Linked DNA regions of Homo sapiens: all the other regions are linked to region 3. The links are contacts of gene promoters, found by promoter capture Hi-C in blood cells and fetal thymus (Javierre and others, 2016). All regions are on one chromosome and are shown on one strand. Each heading gives the region's core, a stretch centred on a gene start or on the middle of the fragment in contact. The rest is flanking DNA. Distances are from core to core; before and after follow the strand shown.

Region 1 (2,700 bases), core at 71-2,570, 260 kb before region 3:
CAGCTTCTTCTGTTGTGTTCAATGTCAGTAATAACTGTGGACATCTCAGTGGCCTAGGCTGTAAAAATTTGTGACGGGGCAATAGTGGCATTGGTTGTTAATATCCTCAGTATAAAGGGCTTTTGTGGTCCTCCTGTTGTTTTCTTCTCAATGAGGGGACTTAGCTGAGGGGATCTCTCTTGGTGTTGGGTCTGACATAGCCTACAAGCATCTGCAGTGGCACTGGATTACAGGTGCAAGTGCTTTAAGCAGTTGTGGGGTTGTGGTCTTCGGTTCACAGTCTCATGAACTTATCATGGCACCTGGGTCTTGGGGTGCAGGTTTGCTCTTTGTGGCAGGGTTAGATGTAGGTTGCCCACAGAGCCAGGATCTGTGACTCTATGGCACCCCCTAGTAGCTCAGGCCCAGGGGTGGAATTGTTGCTGAGATTATACCCCTGGGGGGAGGGCACAACCCTGGCCTGAGTTTGGGGAGGAAGGAATGAATGCTTTAGAGGTTTGAGCCTGGGAAGCAGGGTATGGCTGCAATTTGGGAAGCTGAGCCAGTAGGGCTCAGTGATAACTCAGGTCCCATTGGATGAGGTACTATGTAGTAGTGACTCTAGGCCTTGAGATGGTCAGGGTTGGGAGTATCTCAGACTCAGTGAGGGCAAGTGCAGTGGCAGTAAGTACCCCAGAATGGCAGAGCACAGCTATCATTTGGGCCCTGAGGAGTAGGGCAGAAGAAAGCACAGTGATGAGTCTACTCCCCAGGAAGAGGGGTGTTTCAGCAGCTAAGACTTTAGTAGGCTAGTCCAGCTCCAGGGAAGCAGAATACTAGATCCGTTTGGCCTGTAGGGCTGAGTGTCTCAGCTCAGCCATTGCTCCATTTCTCTGGGACACCGGATACTATTTCAGCTCAACCTTGGGATGTGGAGCTGCTCAGCTCATCCAGGGCACCAGTTCCTTAGGGGGCAATGTGCTACTTCAGCTCAGGCCTGGAAAGGCAGGACTGTTCTGGGTGGCCCAGGAACCATTTCCCTGGAATGCAGGATGCCCTGCGGCTTAGGTACTGGTGTGTGTGTGACTGCTCTGGGTGGTCAGGGCACCACTTTCTAGGATGCAGGGTGCTGCTTCAACTTAGGTACCAGAGAAGTATGAGTGCCATACATGTACAAGGTAGTCTTTTCCCAGGAGACAGGGTACCACTTCAGCTCTGACCTGAGGGGCTGGGGAGGAGTAGGTGGAGGACCTTTGCCTCTGCTTGGTTCCGTAGGGAAGGGTGTAATAGCTGCTCACAGCTGAGCTTGGGGATGTTGGGCCACTGGGCTGGAGTAGCTCAGTGGTGGCTTAGCCTCAAGGATGAAGGCGAGCCAAGGGTACTCACTTCCTGGACAAGACATTCTCCATCCATAGTTTCAAATCCAAGATGGCACAGCACAGTAGTTTTGCAGGCCCCAGGAGGTGGAGCACAGTGTTGGTGCCTTCTCTAGTGGGACCACAGCTATGTGGTCTCCAGGCAGTTCCCTCACTGGGCTTAGTTCCTGTGAGGACTGCAGGGGACCCCAGCGGTGAGGCCTGTAGGTGTCCAAGGTGTTCATGCAGGTTGCTGGGATCCTCTTTCTTACCTCATTGCCAAAGGAGAAGGTCTCTCCTCATTCCCAGCCCATCCTGGTTAGGGAATGGGATGGTGGAGGCTCAGTGTTTCCTTTGGTTCTCTATGTGGCCATTCCAATTTTCTGTGCTCACCCGGATTTCTATTACTCCTCTGATGCACAATGACACTCTCCTTCAGTTATTTTTATTGCAATGTTATCGTTTATTCATTGTTCTGGATGTTTTTGTGAGGGGGACAAGCACTAAAGGCTTCTGGTCAGCCATCTTGCTCCATTGAACCATTCTTGCTTTCCGAGATTAAATCCCACTTAGTCATGGTGTTTAATCCTTTTAATATGCTGTTGAATTTGGTTTGCTAATTTTTTTTTTGAGGATTTTTGCATTAATATTCACAAGGGTTATTACCCTACAGTTTTCTTTTTTTGGCAACATCTTTGTCTGGCTTCAGTATCAGGGTCATGCTGGCCTCAGAGAATGACTTAAGAAGTATTACCTCCTCTTCAAGTTTTTGGAAGAGTTTCAGAAGGATTGGTGTTAATTCATTGTTAAGTATTTGGTATAGTCCAGGCATGGTGGCTAATGATTGTAATCTCAGCATTTTGAGAGGCTAAGGTAGGAGGATCACCTGAGCTCAGGAGTTCAAGACCAGCCTGGGCAATGTAGGGAGTCACTATCTCTACAAAAAAATTTTTAAAAAATATTAGCTGGGCATGGTGGCATGTATCTGTAGTCCTAGCTACTTGGGAGGCTTAAGTGGGAGGATTGCTGGGGCCCAGGAAGTAAAGGCAGCAGTGAGCTGTGATCACACCACTGCACTCCAGCCTGGGTGACAGAGCAAGACCCTATCTCAGGAAAAAAAAAAAGCATTTGGTGTAATTCACCAGTAAAGCCATCTGTTCCTCAGCTTTTTGTTGTTGATATTGTTGAGAGGTTTTGATTATTGATTCAATCTCCTTACTAGTTGTGTCTATTCAGATTTTCTAATTATTTATCAGTCAATTTTGATAGATCATGTGTTTTCAGGAATTTGTCCATGTCATCCAGGTTATCCAGTTTTGAAGAATATGCTTGTTTAGTATAGCTTTTAAAGATAGTGATGAATTAC
Region 2 (2,700 bases), core at 113-2,612, 220 kb before region 3:
TTTGTATTGATGAGTACATTGAGGCAACAGTGAAGTTCATATTTGAAGAGTGTTTCATCTGATTTTAAAACTTGATCATATCCTTCCATATTATACAGCTATTCAGGATGTGTGCTGATATAGTCATAGAGAGATCAAACCCAGAAGAGAGATCAAGGGTTGCAGAGGGAAGAAAATATTGTGTGAAGTCAAGCTCTGAGCATTGCAGTACCTTGCTCAGAAGTACCGGCTTGAGTCCTGAGCTCTTTCTCTGCCATAGTCACTGGCGAAAGGTAACTGCTTTGTTGTGTAGATTTGGGCAGTCCTTGGCAAGCCTGGTAAGACTCACACACACACACACACACACACACACACACACACAGACACAAGCAGCCAAGGTGTCCTTCTGGAAAGCCGCGGTTTGGAGGCCTACATCAATTCAGTTCCTCCCTGAAGTCTTTTCCCCCAACAGGTGTGCCCACTGCTGAGTTAGTGCTGGTTGAAGTGCACTAAAGACCTGCTTGGGTCAGAGATCTGTTTCTGCACCCAGGGATTCTAATCCATAGGTTACCTTTTTTGCCCATTCTCAAATAGCTTTCCTTTATAACCCTATCACAGTTATTACTTTATAAGTTCTTGAGCAATTATTTACATTTTGCATCCATTCTCTCCTGTATCCCAGGCTGGGGCAGGACCTTTGTGGGGTTTGCTCTCCATTACTTCTCGGTGTTGTGAAGGGACCTCAGACCATGTGGCCACACACAGCTCTTGGGTTCTTTGAGGCAGATGCTGGTACCACCCAGAAGTCTGAGGTGTGAGGGCTCCTGCCCCAGCCCCACTCCACTTCCAGATTGTGAGGGAAGGACCCTTAGCCAGAGTGTCTCCCATGTAGACGTTAAGCAAAGCAAGCTCCAGATCTCTGGCCTCAGCTGGCCTGAGAAGACTACTCAAGGGAGACAGCACATTCTGAGGATCTGCATCAGGGAATGGCAGACTAAGCTGTGGGCCAAATTCTTATAAATGAAATGTTGGAACATTTGGGTGTTGCCTGTCACATCTTTCCTGACATACTGGCAGAGTTGGGTGGTTGCAATAGAGACTGTGTGGTCCACAAAGCCTAAAATATTTGCTTTCTGGCCTTTACTGCAAAAGTCAGCCAACCCCTGATCTAGAGCCTAACTTGGAATCTGCTTGTTGACATGAAGCATTCAGGAATCCATCTAAAGCAATGGGGAGGGGAGAACAGAGCAGAGAAGGAGCCTCAGGGGCCATTCTGAAGGGTGCTGGGGACAAGGTTTACTGTTATTCCCTGTTTGTGCAAGGATGGGCCATGTCTAAACCTTAAAAAAAATTTTTATTGTGGTAAAACATACATAACACAAAATTTACCATTTTAACCATTTTCAAGTGTACAGGACAGTGGCATCAAGTACATTCACGTTGTATGCAACCATTACCACCACCACTGGCTTCCAGAACTATTTTCTCTTCTCAAACTGAGAACTTTGTGAACCATTTCTCCTGTCTTTTTTTTTTTTTTTTTTTTTTTTTTTTTTGAGACAGTCTTGCTCTGTCACCCAGGCTGGAGTGCAGTGGCGCATTCTCAACTCGTTGCAACCTCTGCCTCCCAGGTTCAAGCAATCCTCCCACCTCAGCCTCCCAAGTAGCTGGGATTACAGGCATGTGCCACCACACCCGGCTAATTTTTGTATTTTTAGTAGAGACAGGGTTTCACCATGTTGGCCAGGTTGATGTTGGAACTCCTGACCTCAGGGGATCCACCTGTCTTGGCCTCCCAAAGTGCTGGGATTACAGGCATGAGCCACCACACCAGGCCGATTTCTCCTGTCTTCACTGCCTTTATTCTTACCAGTAAGAGCTCACTTTTAGGATTCATCATGATAATTAATAAGTTGCTGGTGTTGGCAATGAGTGTCCATTTTTGACACTCAGGCTGCAGAGGTGCAAATCTTTGGTGCTGACTGCGCTGTGCCTGACAGGAGGCTTATGATGCCGCCTGGGGCGCTGCGTGGATGTGCAGTGCCCAGTTGGTCTGGAGCAAGCACTCTGAATGACACATGGGTGGATGAAAGCTGACATGAACATTTGAGTACTGCTCTTGATAATGATGAGAACCATTGTTTCAAACTGGACATTGCCTACGGGTGCCCCAAAGTCCTGCTCTCCTAGAATTTCCACGCAGGGTCCCTGTTCCTCTCTTCTTCCCTTCCTGGCTTCCTTGATAGCTGGGCAGTGCTCAGATTTCCACCAGGGCTGTCTGGTGCTGGGTAGATGGAGTTCCATTTGGGTGAATGACTCTGGGGGAGGCCCTTGTTCTCCTGTTCAGATGCACCATTGAGCAGTTGCCAGAATTTGCACTCTGTTGACACTCAGGATGGGGCTGAATTGTTGCTGTCTCCTCTATTCCTTCCCCCTACATCTGGCCAGAGCCCAACCGTGGGGGTGGGAGAAGGAAGTGAGAAGAACTGGTGTGTGTTTTTTTACATTGGGGATGAGTATGGGAGCATGGATGGGTAAGTGGATTCATGGTTGGAGGAAGTGAAATAGGAACTACTTCGCCTTTCCCCCAGGCTGAAAAGGGCTTTGAAGATCAGGATGGAGGCACTCACTGGGCAGGATGGAGAGACATGGACCAGGAGGAACTAAGTGACATGCAGAGTCCTCCAGGGGCCAATCACACACGTCATAGAGGAAAGGCTT
Region 3 (2,700 bases), core at 201-2,700:
GACGGTCTTGTTGTTGTAGTATCACACTCAAAGCAGCAGCATTTTACTTCTCAGATTCCAGGTGTAAGCTCTACTTTTTTATCACGCCTTCATAATAAAGAAAATCTGTTCTGGAGATTCGTATATTGATTTCTTTGCAAAGTTATCTCTAATTATGCAGGAATGGCTGTTAGTTGCCCTCAAAAACCAACACAAATACACAAACACAACAGCCTGGCTTAGTGATTATTAAGAGCTGCAAGTCTGAAGGCGGACTGCTGGGTGTGAATTCCACCTTCTCAACGCTGTAGTCTCCAGCAAGTTCCTTAACTTCTCTGCCTCCGTTTCCTTTCCTGTAAGATAGAGTCTACCTCAGGGTTAATATGAGGATATGCTTCTTTGCTAATGCTGGAGGGCGCTAGGAATAGCAGTGGCAGGCTGTGTCATTTCTCAGTGTTGTATAACGGCTTGTTTTAAAAGTCCCACTGAAAACTTTTTTTTTTTCCAGATCGAAACACAAGTTTAATAGTCATTCAGATTTCATTCCAGTCTAAAGAAACTTATAGAAATCTAATTATCTGCCAGAATAACCGCTTTAAACTGACTGTAAGAACCACAGTTACTTTGCAGCTAAAACAGATTGTTCTCTTCCCCCAAACAAACTCGGACATTTAGACAAATATTGCTGCTGTCTTTACATTTTAGAAATCAGTATTAAGGCTCACCTGTTACTGAACACATACGAGAAACAGTTTTGTTATGCGTATCTTATATACATCATGTATACATTTTCGTACTTTCACATGATGTGTATAATAAGATACACATAAAAACTGGTTGGCTTGTCATGAGTAAATGCTTTATTCTTTAGAGTGAAGGAATATTGGATACAGAACGTCGTTCCATATTTAATCTTGCTTTAGAAAATTAGGATTTATCTTGGACACAGCATTTTGAATATAACACAGGCAAGTTGAGTCCTGGGGGAAAAATTGTATTTTTAAATTTATTATCAACGGTGTCTTTCGCATTTGAGAAAACACATTTGAAGATGCCCATGCAGTTCCTTGGAAGTAAACTAGGTCACCCACCACTGAAACACCCTCGGCTTCTGCAAAAAGATGTGCTTTAAAGAGAATAGAATGGACGCTCGGTATGTTCATCTAAACGACCTTGGGCAAGTACGTCGATTCCAAGGTACAATCAGCCCTCCCAGACGGCTTTTCGAGTCTCCCTAACCCCGGTGGGAGAGGACGCGGCGCCAGAGCCCAGCTCCGGCTAGTTTTCCCGGGGGCAGGTGTAGCCTTGGGCGCGGGGCCGGGGGAGGGGCAAGGGGCGGGCGTGGGGTTGGACTGGGACGTGGGACTCGGACCACGGCCTGGGCGTGGGCCTAACGACGCGGGACCGGCCCGCCCTCGCCGCTCCATTGGCCACATCTGTGCAGAAAAGGCCCCGCGGCCCAGGGGCGCCCGCAGTGTCACTAGGCCGGCTGGGGGCCCTGGGTACGCTGTAGACCAGACCGCGACAGGCCAGAACACGGGCGGCGGCTTCGGGCCGGGAGACCCGCGCAGCCCTCGGGGCATCTCAGTGCCTCACTCCCCACCCCCTCCCCCGGGTCGGGGGAGGCGGCGCGTCCGGCGGAGGGTTGAGGGGAGCGGGGCAGGCCTGGAGCGCCATGAGCAGCCCGGATGCGGGATACGCCAGTGACGACCAGAGCCAGACCCAGAGCGCGCTGCCCGCGGTGATGGCCGGGCTGGGCCCCTGCCCCTGGGCCGAGTCGCTGAGCCCCATCGGGGACATGAAGGTGAAGGGCGAGGCGCCGGCGAACAGCGGAGCACCGGCCGGGGCCGCGGGCCGAGCCAAGGGCGAGTCCCGTATCCGGCGGCCGATGAACGCTTTCATGGTGTGGGCTAAGGACGAGCGCAAGCGGCTGGCGCAGCAGAATCCAGACCTGCACAACGCCGAGTTGAGCAAGATGCTGGGTGAGTCCGAGTCGCAGACCCAGGCGGCCGGGCGCGCTGGCGCGAATCGCTAGGCCGATTTCTTAAACCCCAAACTGTTCTTTGCGAGCCTGACGCCCAAAACCAGGGGTGTGTAGCGGCCACGTCCTTTCTTAAGGCTCTGGGTTCCCTTCCCGCTTCCCGCCCTCCGACCCTCCAAAGCAGCTTTCCGCCTTGCTCTCCGGCTCCCGGATTCCCCAGGTGGCCGGGGGCGCGGGTCCAACGGCTCTGGGAAGGCGACTTCCCGGCACCTCCGGGCGGCGCGAGAGCACCCTTGGCCCTGAACTGGGCCGGTTGTGTCCATCCCTCGACCCCTTCCCTAGTTAGGTGTCCTTTTCTGTTTTTCGAACGACCGGGTGATGGGTGAGCGGAAAGCCGCTTCCAGGAGACCAAAAGAAAGGGGTGCCTTTAGAGGACGGGTGTTCCCCAAGGGCTCGGACTCAGGAGTCCCAGATCTCCCTCTTTAACTTCACCCCGGTTGCGCAATTCAAAGTCTGAGGGGGGAGGTGCGTCCAGGTGGGGCCAGGTGGGGCCTGGAGCGGGAGCGCAGCCGATAAGCCCTGCGCCCCTCTCCCCCTTCCTTCCACTGTGCAGGCAAGTCGTGGAAGGCGCTGACGCTGGCGGAGAAGCGGCCCTTCGTGGAGGAGGCAGAGCGGCTGCGCGTGCAGCACATGCAGGACCACCCCAACTACAAGTACCGGCCGCGGCGGCGCAAGCAGGT
Region 4 (2,700 bases), core at 18-2,517, 240 kb before region 3:
ACTTCTGCTGCGCCAGCCTCCCAGGGTCCCTCGAGGTGCAGAGGGACTCGGTGAAGAGGTTGGCTAACTGCAAGAACCCTGCAGAAATGCTACTAGCCTTTTCTATCTGAGCACTAGTGTTTATCAGTTGGTGTGAAGACGAAAACGTGGCTAATGGGCCCTCAGGAGAGGCAATTTTGGGGCAAAATGGAGCAGAAGGAGTTTCTTACCATGTCCTCAGATTTATACTCGTCAGACTTCAACTGCTTGAGATAAAATTCAGGGCATAGGTTGGATCTATTGAGGCCAGTCCTGGGAGGTGCTTGGTGTTCCTGACCTTTCTCTTGGCACTGGGGTTGTGGATGGTACACTTTTAGCCCGAAGTTCTCAGAAGCAGCCTGCATTATCCATTAGGGCCTGTCCATCCAGTTCAAGTTCACAGTGATAAATCTCACAGCCCCTGAGGGTCCTCACAAAGGTGGGTGTGGTGTGCTGATAGCAGGCATGATTAAGTGCTTTCCTGTGTCAAATATAGCTGTAATATACTACAAACAGGCAGTCAGGCTTTATACAAACTGATCTGGCTGCTATCAGCTGCTCTGACATTTTATACTAATACTTAAAATAAATCTAGAAACAGGAAAGAAAGTACAGAATTATTGTTTTAAGCAGCCTGTGAGAGCTTATCTTCAAAGTGGCAGAGGTTCTATTGTATTTAGAGAAACTGCTCACTCCTTGGGCATGAAGTTTGTTGCAGGGACTCTGGGCTGCCTTGAGCAGTTTCCCACGTGAGTGCTGAGGGCTGTCTCCAGGCAGAGCACTCACCCCTGCCCAGGGGCTCTGTCCCTGCTCCTTGCTCCTTGCTCCAGGGAAGACCTTCCAGTGCACCTGAAGCCCCAAACACACTTTAAGAGTTAATTTAGAATTCCCCTTTAAAACAAACAAAAACATCACATTTTCCCTTGTCAATGTTGCTTTTGCCTTCGCATGTGGTGTCTCTGCCCTTGTATGTTTCACAGTTGAAAACGAAAGGAGGCTCCTGACTTTCTGGAGTTTCTTTCTGGACTGGGAGACCAAGGGAGAGGTGCCCATGAAATAGAGATCTAAGACTTTTAAAAAGAACGTGCTGGACGTGGTAGCTCATGCCTGTAATCCCAGCACTTTGGGAGGCCGAGGTGGGCAGACCACCTGAGGTCAGGAGTTTGAGACCAGCCTGACCAATATGATGAAACCCCCCCATCTCTACTAAAAATACAAAAATTAGCTGGGTGTGGTGGTACGCACCTGTAATCCCAGCTACTTGGGAGGCTGAGACAGGAGAATCGCTTAAACCCGGGAGGCGGAGGTTGCAGTGAGCTGAGATCATGCCACTGCACTCCAGCCTGGGCGACAGAGCGAGATTCTGTCTCAAAAAAAAAAAAAAACAAAAAAAAAACACAGAAATCACTGAGCTCCTCTAGGAATTCTCAATTCTGGCAACACCTTGGTCACTCGGGGGGCTTTTTAAAAATACTGATGCCCAAGATCTACCACCAGGGTCCAGCTTAATTGTTCTAGAATTTTTGAGGGGTGAGGATTGGGGTATTGGTATGTTTATAAAACTCCCTAGGTGATTCTAATGGGCAGCAGAGTGGAGAAACAGCCATTTATTCATATGGTTCATTAGACAGATGGCAGGAAGGAGTGGCTGCCGCCTCCCACAGAGTGTGAGGACCGGACCAGGGCTCTCCAGCTCCCTTTCAGGAATCTGCATTAGACACTATGATTTATTGGTGCTCTAACCGAGATAAATCTAAGAAGGCACTGGATGCTAAGTACTTAGTGCTACTTGCAGTCACGGTTGGTTTCTTCCTCAGCTTTATCTCATAATTTAAATTAGTTTTTTTCTACCAATGTAATCAAAGGATCTTATTTTTTTCTGTCATTTCTGTAAAATGCCTTTATTTCTTGGATCCTCCTTCTTTACTCAAAACAATTTTGTGTAGATTTGAGTCATGAAAGACTTTAGAAAGATTGACGCTCACGTTCACTTTGTAAAACTGAACCAACAATTAAAAATGACCCAGCTGGGATAGCACAGAGAACTGAGTTAAATTGGTGGCTGCCTTAAGTGCCACTTCTGGTGTTGTTTGTAAGAATGAGGAAGCCAGTTACTCCCTCTGCTCTGATGCCTGCATTTTTGGTGGATGTTTTCAAAACATTTTAAACCAACTACACAATACATGCAGTACATGATTATGGAGATTATATATTTGGAATTTTCTGGGGTAGTCTTATTTTATTTTATTTTTCAGACAGAGTGTCACTGTGTTGCCCAGGCTGGAGTGCAGTGGCATGATCTCGGCTCACTGCAACCTCTGCCTCCCGGGTTCAAGCGATCCTCCTGCCTTAGTCTCCCGAGTAGCTGGGATTACAGGCATGCTCCAGCGTGCCTAGCTAATTTTTGTATTTTTAGTAGAGACGGGGTTTCACCATATTGGCCAGGCTGATCTCGAACTTCTGACCTCAGGTGGTCTGTCTGCCTCAGCTTCCTAAAGTGCTGAGATTAGAGGCAAGAATCACCATGCCTGGCTGTCTTATTTTATTTTTATTTCTTTATTTACAGATTGAGGTGGGGTTCCCTATGTTGCTCAGGCTAATCTCAAACTCCTGGCCTCAAGGGATCCTCCTGCCGCAGCCTCCTGAGTAGCTGTGATTACAGGTGGGAGCCATGCTGCCCAG
Region 5 (2,700 bases), core at 140-2,639, 190 kb before region 3:
CTACAAAAAATTAGCTGGGCGTGGTGGCATGCAGCTGTAGTCCCAGCTACTCAGGAGGCTGAGGTGGGAGGATCGCTTGAGGTTGCCATGAGCTATGATCATGCCACTGCCCTCCAGCCTGGGTGATAGAGTGAGATCCTGTCTCTCTCTGTCTCTCTTTTTTGTTTAAAAGAAGTTGGCCTGGCACGGTGGCTCATGCCTGTAATCCCAGCACTTTGGGAGGCCGAGGCGAGAGGATCACCTGAGGTTGGGAGTTCGAGACCAGCCTGACCAACATGGAGAAACCCTGTCTCTACTAAAAATACAAAATTAGCAGGGCATGGTGGCGCATGCCTGTAATCCCAGCTACTCGGGAGGCTGAGGCAGGTGAATCGCTTGAACCCAGGAGGCAGAGGTTGCAGTGAGCCGAGATTGTGCCATTGCGCTCCAGCCTGGGCAACAAGAGTGAAACTCTGTCACAAAAAAAAAAAAAAAAAAAAGAAGAAGTTATATTTTGCTATAATGTCAATTGCCCCCTCTATCCATTAGGATTTAAGCATGATTAAGTTTTTCCCAACTTAAAAAAAAAACAACAAGAATCCCTCTCCTGTTCCTCTCTACCCCTGCTGCATGCTGTCTTCACTTCTCTTATCTAAGCCTCAACTCAGAGGCTTCTCCACTCCTTGGAATTGAATAATGACCTCTTTCTTGCCAAATTCATGGTACACTTTTCCTTCTTCCCTTGCTACACTCCTGTGGCATTTAACTTGGGTATTAATTCACTCCTTTTTGGCTGAATCTCTCTCTCAGTGGCCCCTGAACACTGCTGGTCCTCTGAACTCTCAATAAACTCTTTTCAGCCTCCTCAGAAGCCTGTCTTCCACTGCACATCCCTGCAAACTTTCTCTTCTGCCCTTCCTGGGGTCTCTGCAGGCTACACAGTCTCTGGGAGCGGGGAGGGTCATCTACTTCAAGCCCAAGCTCTTTAAATTGTCTCTGTGATGGACAGTGCCGGGGGAAAAGAGTCTGTAGGAACCCCTCTCAGTTGAGTCCCTTTCTGGCTCTCAGTGTAAGACAAACTCCTGGCCCAAGGTCATGGCCCTTCCCAAGGGAAGCCACATCCCATGACCTGTTTGAAGGCCCAATTTCTCACCTCAATTCAGGTCAATTCTGAAGGGCCATCTCCACCCACAAAGCTCCCTTTGAGATCAGGGGAAGCCTTTGTTGTGACTGGATCATGGTTCAGCTTCTTCACGTGCCTGAGCTGGCTTCCTTCATTTTCCCACGTGTTGACCCTAAGAGCTTCTCCATGGACAACAACCTCCATCTCGGAATCTTCTTCCCAGAAACTACCTGTGGCCTCTATATGCTGAAGGTCTCCATCTTTACATTTGCAGCCTGAATTTCTTTCCTGAAACCCAGATCCCAACCTCTGTTGTTTGTTGGATATCATTATTTGGGTGTTAAATAGGTTCTTCAAACTCCACAGGTCCCAACCTATGTTCATGTCTTCCTTTCCAGTCCATTCTCTTCTCGGTGGGCTCCTTCTCTCTTTTTTTCAATTTTTTTATTTTTGAGACGGAGTTTTGCTCTTGTCGCCCAGGCTGGAGTGCAGTGGTGCAATCTCGGCTCACTGCAACCTCTGCCTCCCGGGTTCAAGCAATTCTCCTGCCTCAGTCTCCTGATTAGCTAGGATTACAGGTGCCTGCCACCACGCCTGGCTAATTTTTGTATTTTTAGTAGAGACGGGGTTGCACCATGTTGGCCAGGCTGGTCTCGAACTCCTGACCTCAGGTTATCCATCTGCCTCGGCCTCCCAAAGTGCTGGGATTACAGGTGTGAGCCACGGTGCCCGGCCTTTCTCTTAATAAAGTGGTTCAAGCCAGATACCTAGAAGTTACCCTTGGTCTTTTCCTCGCTGTTCCCATTCAATCCATCACCAAGTCTTGTTGATTCCTCATTTCCACTTCCTTGTGATAAATATTTCCCAGATGTATCTAGTCTTCCATTCTCTTTGCTGTTACCTTATCTCATGTCTCCACCATCACTTATTCCAATTTTCTCCTTTGCCTCCAACTGCCTCCTGAGTAATTTCCTTGGAATGTAAGTATTTTCATGCCGTTGCTCTGCTTAAACCTTTCAAGGGATTCCTATCGCCCTTCTGTCAAGTCCAAAGTTCTTGGCCAGGCATGGAGATTCGTGATTTGTCATTAGGCCCTTGCTAACCTGCATGGCCTCCCTCCTATCTTGCCATTGCAGCGCTGGTCCCCAGGACTAGCCATGTAAGTCTTTGAGGAGTGATCAAAAAAGTCATTAGCTGCAAAAGCCTTTTTTTATAGATGTTTTTTCTTTCTATCTGTTACTTTCTTCTCTCTCTCTCTCTTTTTTTTTTTTTTTGGTTATCCTTCCTACTAAACTGTATGTTCCCTGAAGGGTATAGAAAGCATACTGAGTGAGTGCTTGTAGAATGGATAAAAAAAAGTGTGAAAAGTGAGATTTGAATCAGTGAAAAATGAATGGAATTTGTAAGCAATAGAATACACTGAAAACATCCCAGGGGTCTAATGAGTGGGCTTAAATCCTGTGTAGGGATTTGGATTGCAGAAGAGAAAGAAAGTATACATGTGACTCTAAGAAGCCAGTGCATTTGGGAACCAGGCAAAAAAAAGATCTTGCTTCCCCCATGATGAGGACAGTTCTAGTTTGGATGGGAGTGTTGGG

Evidence for each region. Contacts are between HindIII fragments. The CHiCAGO score rates a contact against its expected background, and 5 or more counts as called.
Region 1: a contact is called between a fragment that was not itself captured here and the fragment with the promoter of SOX17 in region 3, in 1 of 17 cell types (endothelial precursors). The highest score is 6.0, in endothelial precursors.
Region 2: a fragment that was not itself captured here is called in contact with the fragment with the promoter of SOX17 in region 3 in 1 of 17 cell types (endothelial precursors); the score reaches 6.1 in endothelial precursors.
Region 4: a contact is called between a fragment that was not itself captured here and the fragment with the promoter of SOX17 in region 3, in 2 of 17 cell types (endothelial precursors and megakaryocytes). The highest score is 9.5, in endothelial precursors.
Region 5: a contact is called between a fragment that was not itself captured here and the fragment with the promoter of SOX17 in region 3, in 1 of 17 cell types (endothelial precursors). The highest score is 7.0, in endothelial precursors.

Annotation. Positions count from the first base shown.
Region 1 is chr8:54,201,393-54,204,092 of GRCh38, forward strand. No RefSeq gene overlaps it. Among named protein-coding and RNA genes, the nearest start is that of MRPL15, 68 kb to the left of the region's middle. The HindIII fragment of the contact is 6,346 bases long and covers 1-2,700 here.
Region 2 is chr8:54,240,645-54,243,344 of GRCh38, forward strand. No RefSeq gene overlaps it. Among named protein-coding and RNA genes, the nearest start is that of RNU105C, 89 kb to the right of the region's middle. The HindIII fragment of the contact is 6,637 bases long and covers 1-2,700 here.
Region 3 is chr8:54,456,485-54,459,184 of GRCh38, forward strand. SOX17 (SRY-box transcription factor 17) reads left to right here and starts at 1,451. Exons shown (of 2, transcript NM_022454.4): 1 at 1,451-1,961; 2 at 2,574-2,700. The coding sequence starts at 1,655. The HindIII fragment of the contact is 4,543 bases long and covers 1-2,700 here.
Region 4 is chr8:54,218,281-54,220,980 of GRCh38, forward strand. No RefSeq gene overlaps it. Among named protein-coding and RNA genes, the nearest start is that of MRPL15, 84 kb to the left of the region's middle. The HindIII fragment of the contact is 3,499 bases long and covers 1-2,700 here.
Region 5 is chr8:54,270,727-54,273,426 of GRCh38, forward strand. No RefSeq gene overlaps it. Among named protein-coding and RNA genes, the nearest start is that of RNU105C, 59 kb to the right of the region's middle. The HindIII fragment of the contact is 3,110 bases long and covers 1-2,700 here.